Regions from separate parts of the Homo sapiens genome. Here region 2 is linked to region 1. Evidence: promoter capture Hi-C in human tissues and cell types (Jung and others, 2019). All regions are on one chromosome and are shown on one strand. The core of a region is centred on a gene start or on the middle of the fragment in contact, and the rest is flanking DNA. Distances in the headings are between cores, read along the strand shown. Region 1 holds the start of ERCC8 (ERCC excision repair 8, CSA ubiquitin ligase complex subunit). Region 2 overlaps ZSWIM6 (zinc finger SWIM-type containing 6).

Region 1 (6,677 bases), core at 1,607-4,106:
CTATTAGTGGTGGGACTGGAAAATGCTTTTGGAAAACTGTCAGTTTCTTAAAAAGTAAAGGATTTATCTAGTAGCTCCACTGTTATGCATTAACTTCAGAGAAATAAAAGCATATGTTCATACAATGACTCATACATGAATTTTCAGAGCAGCTGTAAATGTATTAGTCCTGAACTGGAAACAACTCAGATGTCCATCGACAAGTGACTAGATAAACTGTGGTATATCTGCACAGTGGGATACTCCACAGCAAAAAAAAGGAATTGATACATGCAATAACATGGAGAAATTTCAAAATAATGTAATTATGCTGAGTGAAAGAAGCCAGACAAAAAAGATTCCATTTATATAAAATACTAGATATGCAAACTAATCTATAGTGACCTAAAGCAGATTAGTAGTTTCTAGAGAAGGAAGAGGGTAAAGCAGAGAAAGAAGGGAGACAGGGATTATAAATGACCGTCAAAAATTTTTTAGGGTTATGGATGTTCTCTTGATTATGGTAATGGTTTCAAAAGTAAATATATGTCAAAATTCATCAAATTGTATATTCTCATTTAATGTGCAGGGTATTGCATGTCAATTATACCTCAATAAAGTTGTAAAATGTTTTTTTAGAGGGTGTAAACTGTGAACACTGCATATCAGTGTTCATCCTTTTGCTCTTACATGATGACAAGGAAGAACAGTAGACATCTCCTATGAATAAAATGGAACTATATAATTGTTTAAGCAAAAACATCACTTAATGATGGAAATATTTTTAAAAAAATTTTAGGCTGTGTGGTAGCTCGCACATATAATCCCGGCACTTTAGGAGGCAAAGGCAGGAGGATCACTTCAGCCCAGGAGTTCAAGACCAGAATGGGAAACATAGGGAGACCCCATCTCTACGAAAAATTTAAAAATTAGCTAGGTGTGTGGGCACATGTCTGTGGTCCCAGCTACTTAGGAGGATGAGATGGGAGGATCATTTGAGCCTGGAAAGTCGAGGCTGCAGTGAGCTGTAACTGCACCACTGCATTCCAGCCTGGGTGACAGAGCAAGACCCTGCCTCAAAAAAAAAATATTTTTTTAATTTTTAAATACTTTATTTGTCTTAAACGTATAAGCAATCCTCACTTGGCACAGTCTGATATGAATTTCAGTTACCACAGTTTATTAACCGTGAGAAATAGCATAAAAGTTTGCTACTAGCTTTTCAGTTCACAAATCATTACATAAATAACATATGAATCAAAATTGACCAATTTGCAATTTTACTTCTTTCAAAGTCTATGGGTGATTGGTCACTGTGCATCTGTTATTCAGTTCACACACAGGCTGCAAAGCATGGAGGTTTGTTATTAATATTTCTGTGCCCTTGAGATAAACCCACATGGAATTTTACAGATTAAAAGAGGAAATTGGCCAAAAGAATGAAAGTGCACTAAAGAAGAGTGATAATACTAGAAGTGAAACTTGCATTAAACATAAATGGAGCAAATGAAAAAAAAGCTGCCTGTGGGAACATGCTGATTGTGGCAACAATGACACTGCCGCCATTTGAGACATTCTAGATATGCAGACTGAGGAAATCAGTGAAGGTGAACTTATAGACATAAATGAGGAAAAGTGATTGTGATGAAAGGCTGATGATGTGTCAGAGGAAGTGACACTGGCAAAAAAAACACATTAAAGGAACTCTCAGAGATATTTCACAACATTGAAAACGTAATGGATAAAATGTTGGAAACTAATATTTAAATTTCTCCAGAACGCAGAACTCATAAGCAACTGTGTTCTCCAAGTAAATATCTTCACAGGTTCCTCAATTAATGTGGGCAAAATTAAAAGTACAACTTGCTTCTTCCCTTTGGAAAACCCTCTCTCAGAGTATATTACCAACATTCAACTTCTTATACAAGGCATAGATCTGGGAATCATTATTCATTCTTCTCTTTTTGTCATTCACGTATCCACTCAATTTCCATGGCCTGTTGATTCTATTTCTCAGACGTTGTTCAAATCTCTCCACTATCTTTATTCTACTTGGCAACTCTGTGGCCCAGGCTTCCAACAACTCTCTCCCGGACAAGTGTAATCACAACAGTTACCTAACTTGGCTCCCACTCTTGTTCTCAGTTGCAACCCATTCTCCAAGCAGAAAACAAAATGCAATAGCTGTTACCTTATTCTCATCTTCACACCTCTACTCAAGTACACAAGGCTCTTCCTCATCTAGTTTCTGTCTACTTCATCTCTTGTCAATGGTCCCTACCCCAATTCTCCGCTCTAGTCATTCTGAACTTTGTTCAATTCCTGGCCTGTGTCCTCTGCCTTTAATAGGCTGCCTGGCACACTGTAGGAATTCACTAAATATGCAGACTGAATGAATGAACGAGTCCGTGGAGGGCAGTTATTCTTTGGAGTAACTTAAGAGAGAAGGAATACAGTACAACGAAGTATTCTTATTTAGGTTTATAGTGTCTTCACCTGAGCCCGCGGGGGAACCCCCCCCCCACCCCCGGGGAACCCCCCCCACCCCCGCCGCCCCCCGCCTGCAAGTTGTTACCAGTAAATAAAAGGGATCCTATTTTAGCAAGCCACACAGCATTAGAGGGCAAATAATAGTTTGGTGGCAGGAGAGCGATGAGACGGGAAAGTGTGGGGCAAAGCTTACAGTCATTGGTCCAGATTCTAACTGGCCTGTTAGCCAAAAAGTAAGGTTTTCTTTACCTCCGTGTTGACTCTGCTCTCCGAAGGCGAAGAGGGTCCTCCAAACCCGTTTGGCGTGCGGACAAAAACCCCAGCATATCGTGTCCTCACACCGGCTGGAGCACTGGACGTCGCCATGACAGAGCTCAGGGGCGGGACTGGAACAGCAGAGTCTCCCATTGGTCAGTCGGTGATATATCCGGCCAATGGTGAGCGCCGTTACTAGAAGGGCTCCAGGATGGAGGCCGACCTGACTTCTCCGCCTCGGTGGGCTGGGTCGGCGGCTGGAGCATTACCCCTACTGCGGGTCCCGCTGCTGGCAGCGCTGGAAACTGGGTGGACGGCATGGGTTGGTCTCAGGATTTGTTCCGCGCCTTGTGGAGATCGCTGTCAAGGGAAGTGAAGGAGCACGTGGGCACGGACCAATTCGGGAACAAATACTACTACATCCCGCAGTACAAGAACTGGAGAGGTGAGGTGGCGGCGTGGGCAGCGATTGCGTGGTCAGTGATTGCGAGGTCAGTAAAGGAGGGAAAAGTGAGAGCCCCTAGTCAACTAACGCATCATGCGACACTTAGGGTGTCACCGGAGAGAATTTCCCGAGTTCGTTCTCCCCTGTCGACCCCTTCACTCTGGCATCGGAGCCCTACCCGGCCCGGCTCTGGGCGCCTTGGCCCGGCCTCGTGCGTCCGCGGTCCCTACTACCCAGCGCCTTCCCCCGGCGTGCCCCGGGCTGCTTGCGCTGTTAAGGCGCACCACCACTTTCCTCCCAGCCACGCCTGTAGAGGAGCCTCAGTTTTAGCCCTGGACTGGCGACGGAGGCAGGGAAAAGTCCACGGAAATCTTTCACCAAAGGGGCTAGAAGGGCCAGGGGAGGGGTTTTTCGTACGCTGTTCCCCGCCTTGTGACCCAGAGCTGAGTGGTGTAATTGAAGAGGAGTATCTTCAGCGCCTCGGCTGTCTTCTTTCTTGGTGTTTACCCTTTTCGGTGGCACCCTGGCTCCGGCGCTGGCCCCATGCGCCTTCCTTACTACCAAGACTTGTCAGAAGTAGGTCCATATCCCCACAAGGCTCGCTGATTCCTTTCTCGGGAGTTGACATTCCAAGACCCCGTTGAGCTCAATTTAAGAAACGTGGCAATAATCATGGTGTTACTGTGTAGGATTCGTGCCAAGTAGTTGAGCGGGTTGTTTGGGGAGTAAGGAGGCGTTGCTGTCCATTGAAATCACACTGTGTAGCCGCCGTCGTAACCTCTTCTGTGTTGTTCCATCGCCGCATGCAGAAAATGTCAGGTTTTGGGCGAAGAGGCGTGGGTTAGAATCTCAGCTTTGACACCTGATAGCTCGGGAATCACGGAAAAAGTACTTGTCCTCTCCAAGTCTCAACATCCTCACTTGAAAGTTAGAGATAATATAAGATCAGCAATGTTGAGAAGCACTAAGACCTTTCCAAGATTATGTGCCATTCATTTCCCACACATATAAAATGTATTCTGTGATTTATCACTCAATTAATTTATTTTTGCCTGGCCTTTTTCTGTAACTTATTTTAATATTTAGACTTGTTTCCCTAATGAGCTCCTCTGTCAGGCAGGGAATATGTCTCACAAAAAAAGAAAAAAGCCTGCAAAGAACATAGCATGGTGTTAAGTATTTCTTGACAGGTTGCAAGCAGAGAGATGTTTCTTTTCCATAAGTTGTCAGTAAAATTAAAAATATGCAAACTGTCAGACTGAGTTTTTTTAAATTGAAATATAATTTACATACAGTAACATTCACCCTTTATGGTGTACAGTTTTATTGTTTTTGACAAATGAGTAGAGTAACCTCACTGGATTCAAGTAATAGAATAATTCCATCACCATCAGAATTTCCTCCAACTCCTTAGTAGTTCATTCCCACACCCTTTGGCAACTACTGATGTGTTTTATGGGCCTATAGTTTTGTCTTTTCTAGAATATCATATAAATGGAATTATACAGGATTTAGACTTTTGAGTCTGGCTTGCTTCACATAGCATAATGTAGCTGAGATTCATCCATGTGTCAGTAGTTGTTCCTTTTTATTGCTCAGTAGTATTCCATTGTATGGGTTTGCCAGTTTATCTGTTCACAAGCTGAAGGACATTAGGATGTTTCCAGTTTCTGTGATTGTGACAAAAGCTCTACAAACATTCCCATACAGGATTTGTGTGAACGTAAGTTTTCATATCTCTTGGGTAAATATCTAGTAGTGGGATTACTAAGTTGTGTGATCAATGTGTGTTTAACTTTATGAGAAACTACCAAACTGTTTTTCAAAGTGGCTGTACCATTTTGTATTCCTGCCAGCAATGCATTAAAATTCTAGTTGTTTCCACACCCTCACCAGCACTTAGTATTATCTGATTTTTGGGTGTGTTTTTATTTTTATTTTAGCCATTTTGATAGGTATATAGTGGTATCTCATTGTGATTTTAAGTTTCATTTTCCTAATGCCTGAGGATGTTGACAGTCTTTTCATGTGCTTATTTACTATCTACAGATCTTCGGTGAAGTATTGTTCAAACCTTTTGCCCATTAAAAAATCCATTTATGGCTGGGTCCGGTGGCTCATGCCTGTAATCCCACCACTTTGGGAGGCCGAGGTGGGTGGATCACCTGAGATCAGGAGTTCCAGACCAGCCTGGCCAACATGGTGAAACCCCATCTCTACTAAAAATACAAAAATTAGCTGGGCATGGTGGCACGCGCCTGTAATCCCAGCTAGTCGGGAGGCTAAGGCAGGAAAATCACTTGAACCTGGGAGGCGGATGTTGCAGTGAGCCGAGATCACACCACTGCACTCCAGCCTGGGTGACAGAGTGAGACTCCACCTCAAAAAAAAAAAAAAAAAACAAGCCCAAAAAACAACAAACAAATATATTTATACCAGTTTTTGTATCATTCATTTATATAGAGATACAATACCATTAAAGTTTCAAATTAACAGTCATGTCTATTCTACAATAACATGAATATTTTATTTTTACATATTCTCACTAATTTGTATATTTTCTTACATAATTGTAATTGCATTTTGAGAGTTTTATTGAAGTATAATTGACAAAAAAAATTGCCCATGCTTAAAATGTATAATTTGGTAAGTTTTGACATATGTATATATCTGTGAAACCATCAACACAGTCAAGAAAATTAACATATTCAATATCCACAACAATTTGTTGTGCTCCTTTCTAGTCTTGCCTTATGCTTCTGCTTCCATGGATAGGCACTCATCTGATTTCTGACACTATACATTAGTTTGTATTTTTTATAATTTTTATTTAGTTATTTTTATTTGTTTATTTTGAGATGGAGTCTCGCCCTGTCGCCCAGGCTGGAGTGCAGTGGCGCTATCTCGGCTTACTGCAACCTCTGCCTCCCAGGTTCAAGTGATTCTCCTGCGTCAGCCTCCCAAGTAACTGAGATGTGTGCCACCCTGCCCAGTTAACTTTTTGTATCTTTAGTAGAGACGGGGTTTCACCATGTTGGTTAGGCTGGTCTTGAACTCCTGGCTTTGTGATCTGCCTGCCTCGGCCTCCCAAAGTGCTGGGATTACAGATGTGAGACAGTGCGCCTGGCTAGAATTTTATTTAAGTGGAAGCATACAGCACATATTCTGCTTTTTTTTTTTTTTGTTTTTTAGGTTCTTCACTCAGCATAATTATTTTGAGATTCATCCATGTTTTTGTGTTTATCAGTAGTTTATTTCTTTTTAATGCTGAGTAATATTCCATTGTATGTATATACCATAATTTGTTTATCCATTCACCTGTTCATAGATATTTGGGTTGTTTCTAGTTAGGGGTTATTACAAATAAATTATGAACATTCATGTGTAAGTCTTTGTATGGACTTATGTTTTTATTTCTCTTGATGTAATATTTAGAAATGGAATGGCTGAGTCAACTTGTTAGGTGTATGTTTAACTTCTTAAGAAACTGCCTAAGTGGTGGTACCGT
Region 2 (6,677 bases), core at 2,597-5,096, 410 kb after region 1:
TAGTGCAGCTAAACAGAGCATGTTTTTTATTCATCGAGGTGTATCATGCCTTAATGTCCTAATTTCTCCCTTGTTTTTGACCCTAGTGACTAATGAATTTTTGTCTTCACTTGGAACTCTAGAATTTGCCTGAAAATGGAAAAGGGACAGCTAAAATCAATTCTATGTTATTCATGTGTAGAATGGACAGTTGTGGGCTGACCTCATCACTTAGGGTTTAGTTTCCAGGCTTCCCTGAATATGTACCATGGCAAGTGGAAGATGGAAGAAGATAGAACAACTCTTAGATTTATGTTTGTGAATTCCTTATGTCATATGACTGCACTAAGATCTACATTCCCTTCTTTTGGAAACTTTCATTAATAAATGAAGAGAGTTGGTTAGCATTTCCCCCAATTTAAAGATTTACAAATAAATTATTCAGAAAAATAATTTCAAATAAAATTTTAAGGGCTTATTATGAACTCAAATCTTACTTGTGGTTTTTTCAATTGTATTTTTGGGTATTCTCATAAATCCTTGCCTTGGAAAGTTGTGGTGATATGACCCAGACTACCTATTCCACATTCTATTTTTGCTATCACAGTTTAATATTTTCAGTGAAGTTTAGACTGGATTAGCCATCACATCAAGCATTTCCCCCCTTTCTGACCTGTTAGTGTCCTTTCTGCACTTCTAATTTGTACCATAGAGCGCCATTAAAAAAATTTTATATGCTATGTTTGTACACACATGCATGTGTAAGAGTGGACTTTGTGTATGTATAAGAGTGTTAATCAGCTTGCAAACTTTAGACAGGCAGGGCTCAGCTCTTAGAATCTATATTGCAGCCAGGATGGTGTTGTTCATACCTACCCTGTGCAGAACCTTCAGTGGCGTCCCTTTGTTCAGAGGCCTGAAGTCATTCATGGGTGTACAAGGCCCAGCATGGTCTGGCCTGGACCCTCAGCCACCTTCTGCACAATGTCCTCTCCTGCCTTTCAGATGTGTCTAGGCTGCCCTGCTACCTGCCTTTGCCTATGTTCTTTTTTCTGTCTGGAATGCTCTTCTGTGCTTGGTTCATGCCCTAATTGTCATCTTGGCTCAGAGAAATAATCCTGGCAACAAATTACCTCCTTTGAATCCTAATCATAGTTTTTTGTGTGATTTTTCTTTTTTGGATTGTCCTCTCCCATGAGATTGTAGGCTCCAGGAGAGCAGAAACTGTAAATATGTGTGTGAATATGTATATGTACATCTGTTTGTATCCATGGCTATCAGTATAACCATTTGCACATAGTTGTCTCTCAATAAAAGTTTGTTGAATAAATGGATGAAGGAAGTGGTGTTTTACTTTGGGAATATTTTCATAACTCTCCAGGAGGAGGCATTGCTTTTATTCAGTGGTTCCATCTATCTATTGCTTCACACCCATCACACAAAGAATATGCCAGTTTGAAAAATACAGCCTAGTTTTGTGTGTTTGGCTACTTTGGGCCACTCCCAGATTTTCCAAAGGTACACTTGCATTCACCTTTATGGTTAGAGGCACTTTCTTAGAATCTGAGTTTAAGAAACGGTATGCTATTTTAATTACAGTAAGTACTTTATCAAGGTCAGTTGTCTTAGAATGTGGATTTATATGACATAGTCTCTAATACATTCTGTTTGGCATGTATTACAGGGAAAAACCAAACAGTCCTGTTTGCAGCCAAAGATTGCAAGATGGTGGTAGGTGTGTAGTTAGAGCACGAGACTTTCTTTTGCTCACATGCATAGGTCAGTTCTCTTCTTTCCTGTCTTGTCAGTTCTCTTGGATGAGCAACTGTGTTTGGTCATGGGGGCAAGGCACTGACCTTGGAGCTCATGTGCAGGTCACTGTGGGCCATAGCAAGTCTGCCTGAACTTTTTTTTCCCCGTCTGTTGATCTGTGCATTCTTGCTTATGCTTGAGCTTTTTTTCAGTTTGTTTTTAATCTTTGCTTCCTCAAGTTAACATAAGTAGCAGGGTAGAATGATCTGCCACATGAAAGTCATTTCTGTCTCAAAGTGGTCTTGGAGAAACCTGAAATTTTTCAGTGTCTTGTTTGGGATGAGGATTGGGATGAGCTCTCATTTGAAACACATTTATTTGCCATTTTATATTGTTGCAGCTCAACATATTGACCACCTTTTGGGTAGTACCAGTTCTGTGCTTTACAAGCATGATTTCTAGCTCTCATAACAACTTTGAGGAGAAGGTATTCTCATTCTAAGGCTGAGGAAACAGATATGTTAAGTCACTTGTCAGGAGCATCTGGGAAGTCTGTGCTGGACTTGAACACCTAGGCCTCCCAGCTCTCAAGTGGGATCATGTTGTACTTTGTTTTCCAAGTGTTGCTAGAGGCAGCTTGTCTTTTTGCACATGTGTCATTCACAGTCCTCCTTGGTCTGTGATACCATTCAAATATAGTGGCCTGACCTCTGAGCAGTGTTTCACTACTTCTGAATGTATTATGTTTTATTTTTTTCTCTTTGATAAGTAGTAATGGATGTGTAACCCATTCACGATATAGTACCTTCTTGTTCCTTGGAGCTGATACTACACTCAGTTGAGGGTGACTTTTTCTTTGTTGGACATTTACAAATAATTTCAGTCACAACATTTAGTGACATAAATACTTTGACTTGAAACAATTACCATTTTCTCGATTTTTAGTGGGAGACTGGGGCAATGTGTGTAGGACATCCTTCAGAAACAGATGAGTATAACAAGCTGTGTGAGGCAGTAGAGGTGCACACACCTCAGTTACTGGAAGGCACAACTTCGAGTTCTTGTGGATTGTGTTGGCAGCCCTGTAGATAGATTCAGCAGATGCTGTAGACATTCTCTTACTACCGAATTATAGCTTAAAGACCTAACTCTTAGAGCAAGCCTTAAAATGTGCTTTCCCCGCTTTGTTTTAGGAAACTCTTCTGTTTGCTGATGAGGAAAGGTTATCTTTCCAGGCAGCATCCAGGAATGGTCTTTTGAATGTCTTCATGCCTTCTTGTGACCTCATTCCTGCTGCCATCGTACTTATCCCTGCTCAGATTAACTGCCTGCGTGTTCAACTTTATTCCATAGTTGGATCTACCTGTAGCATTTGCAGCTTTCTGTGTAGACTGGGCACAAGTTAAAAGCTTAGGAAGTCTATATAACTCACCATAATTTTAGCACTTTAACTTATTAAGGTACATGTTTTGGTTATCTGATTTATAGAAGTACCATGTAAAAATCCACCTATGCTGTACAATTGCTGAAATACTGAGTAAGCTCTGCATTTTATGACCAAGTTATAGGATGAATAATTACTCTCTGGAGTGAATGGTTCAAAATGAAATAACTGTATGCCTTAGGTGTGACGTGACACGAGATGTATTTAAGCCCCAAAAGTATGTAATTATCACACTACTCTTGCATAGACACACAAGTACATTTTTGCTTATGGCAAGAGTTTTATGTGCAAAAGAAAACTCACTTTCTGGTAAGCGAAGGAACAGTCCATTATTTTTGAGGGGTTCATAAGTTGTTTGGTATTAGAGGCTCCATTTCAATCCCCCTGCATTTCTTTAGGGTCTAATTTAAATTCATACATCACTTGATTCTAGAGTAAACCATTATCATACCCTGGATTTTGAATATTAAGGACAGTTGAGGGAGTTTCTCAAAGCACCATTTTATGACTTATAGTCTGCCTCTGTATTCAGTGACTTATTATATATTCCATTCTTAGACTGCATTTTGATCATCAACTGTATTAAGGCAATATATGTTGTACTTTATTTTACTTTCTACTGAAAGTAAGAGCTATTTTGTAGTCTATTTAGATTTTTAATTTTATAATCTGGTCTCATTTTACAGATCATGAGTAATTAAAGGTATCTCAAGCTGATTTGTCCTGTTTTTAATTCAGTATTAAAGTATTATTTTAATCACATTAAAAATGTGACTGATATTTTTTGTTTATCACAATTCTACTAGCCCCACTGAGTAACTGCTGCTGTTGAATTAGTGATGGGGTTATATCAGTTTCCCTTGTCAAAGGACCAGATACGTCAGCTTGGGTATTTAGCTTGGTAGTTGTGACTTAGTTTTCTGTTCTCAAGCCCAGGAGATGAGAATTCCTTATTCTGGGTGCCAGTGGAGGCCTACAGTGGCTCCTGGGTGTTCCTTTGGGCTAGAGAAAGTCAAGTTGAGATGCCCCCGGCTTTCAGACTAGAAAAATAAATAGCAGTGATGGTATTGATGTAGCTAAGTGATGTAGCTTACCTGTTTACAGTGCGAATCTCTTGAGAGACTTTAAAACACACACACACACACACACACACACACACACACACACACACACACACACACACACACACACACACTATTAGATGGCAGGAGCCAGAATGTTAACTTAGTTTTGTAACTAAGTGTTAGAGAACAATACATTTAAAGCTTTAAACTTTTAAAAAATATAATTTACAAGTAATTTGTAGAAAAGGATAGTAGATTGCTACCATTATGCTAAATATCAATCTGTTCAGTAAAGAGACTGGCAAATTTTAATTCATCTATAATTTTGCTGTCTGATGTGGTAGCCATGTGGCAGGCTGGAATTGAGATTACTGAAAGTGTAACACATGCACCAGAGTTTGAAGACTTAGTGCAATAAAAAGAATGTAAAACATTATGAACAATTTATTGAAATGATAATATTTGTGTTAAAAGTATTATTAGAATTAATTTAGCCTGTTTATTTTAATTTTTAAAATGTGACTACTAGGAAATTTAAAATTACATAGTGGCTTCATTATTTTTTAATTAGTGCTAGTCTCTAGGCCCTTTGGTCTCATAATAAGTTCTTTCTGTTTATGTATACAATTCAGTTATGATTTGATTACATACTTGATTTTAACTTTTTGCCAGCATAAATCTAAACACTGTAGTGATTCTTAAACCTTAGTTTCAAAACACTGTGTGTGTGTGTCTGTGTGTGTGTTTCGGCAGAGATGGAGCCTTGCTCTGTTGTCCAAGCTGGAGTGCAGTGTCAGAATCATAGCTCACTGCAGCCCCGAACTCGGGTTCAAGTGATCTTCCTGCCTCAGCCTCCCAAATAGCTGGGACTACAGGTGCACGCCACCATGCCCAGCTTCAAACACTTTTTTTAAGTTGCCCTTCACATTATTTGAGACTGTTTTTTATCTTAAATTTTAAGGCAGAAGAACCATCTGCCAATTGATTATTTTGTAGGTTTCAGACTTCATTGGCTGAGTTATTTACAATGAGTTAGAATTCATTTTATTTTCGTAGAAGTTCAGTGGGTTGGTTATGATATTTGGGATTTTATTTCTGGTAAAATACAATGAATGCTATTAATGAAATTATTGAAAGTAAGGGCAAAAACTGCAATTACTTTTGCACCAACCTAATATATTTACTTTAAAAAATCATTCCTTTGGACTTGGCTGTGAAAATTAAAAAAGAGAAAACCCTCATTCCTTAAAAACGTTGGCTTTTATAGTAATAAGCTGTCTTACAGGTTTGATATATATATAATATATATAACATAATATATAATATACATATTTTATATATATAATATATATAACATAATATATAATATATATTATATATATATATTATATATAATATGTATAATATATATATAAATATTTTATATATAATATAAATATATAATTGATAAATAAAAAATATATATTTTATATATAATTATGTAATATATATAATATGTATATAGTGTAAAGACAGAAGAAGTATGGGTTTTCTTGAGTTTCAGTGTTTCTTGGATTTTACTATCCAGTTTATAAAAAGGAGGAGAAACAGACCAACGTAAGATGGTCAATTCTTTGTTTTTTGTAGTATTTTTCAAAATGTAGTCTCCGGTTCAATAGCATCATCATCACCTCTTAATTTGTTAGAGATACACATTCTTGGGCTTCACATAGACATACTGACTGGGAAACTCTGGAGATGGGGCCTAGCATCTGGGTTTTAATAAGCATTCCAGGTGATTCTGATACGCACAGAACCACTGGCCTAATGTAGTGGTCAGGGTCCACCCAGGAAAAGAGAAACTACCCTTAAGTTTTTGAAACAGGAATTCAGTGCAGGGTATTGGTTATTCAGGTTATGCAGCTGAAACAGCAAGGTAGATTGAATGATGAGGGCTTTTAAAGCAGCACGAAAATAATACACAAAGATAATACAGTCACTAGGGTTAGGCTATGGGAATTTAGGAGCCAGGGTTCACCTCAGGAGACTGAAACCTCCTGGTAGGGGCAAGTAGGAGCTGGAGCCATGGAAGCAATGCAGCCATTGCTGGAAACACTACCTAAAGAAGAGATGGAAGGAGTGGGAGAAATGTTGTGAATCCTTCCTTCTCACCTTCCAGTTTTGCACCAGTGCCTCTTGTAGACTGAACCCAGAGAAAAGCCAGCTGATCTAGTAGCCTGAGAAATGGGGTCTGGCAGTGATCAGCTCACTTGAGATATAGAGCTCTCAGAGTGTATCTGTGGGTAAACACACCCAGAACTGGCTCATGTAGTAATTACAGTTTAAAACAAAACATTCTAATATAATTAAAAAATAATCTCAGAATAGAAGACAGTCTTCTTAATGGAATAATCATAGCTTTATGAAAACTAAACCATCCTTTTATAATTTCTCTGTTG

Evidence for each region. Contacts are between HindIII fragments. The study calls those that stand out against the background at their distance.
Region 2: a contact is called between a fragment that was not itself captured here and the fragment with the promoter of ERCC8 in region 1, in 1 of the 25 tissues and cell types used here (dorsolateral prefrontal cortex).

What each region holds. Positions count from the first base shown.
Region 1 is chr5:60,942,214-60,948,890 of GRCh38, forward strand. It overlaps ERCC8 (ERCC excision repair 8, CSA ubiquitin ligase complex subunit), which reads right to left and starts at 2,857. Exons shown (of 12, transcript NM_000082.4): 1 at 2,719-2,857. The coding sequence starts at 2,795. NDUFAF2 (NADH:ubiquinone oxidoreductase complex assembly factor 2) reads left to right here and starts at 2,992. Exons shown (of 4, transcript NM_174889.5): 1 at 2,992-3,169. The coding sequence starts at 3,043. RefSeq lists an enhancer at 3,628-3,757. The HindIII fragment of the contact is 9,089 bases long and covers 806-6,677 here.
Region 2 is chr5:61,351,128-61,357,804 of GRCh38, forward strand. All of the region lies in intron 1 of ZSWIM6 (zinc finger SWIM-type containing 6), which reads left to right. Among named protein-coding and RNA genes, the nearest start is that of ZSWIM6, 22 kb to the left of the region's middle. The HindIII fragment of the contact is 6,044 bases long and covers 825-6,677 here.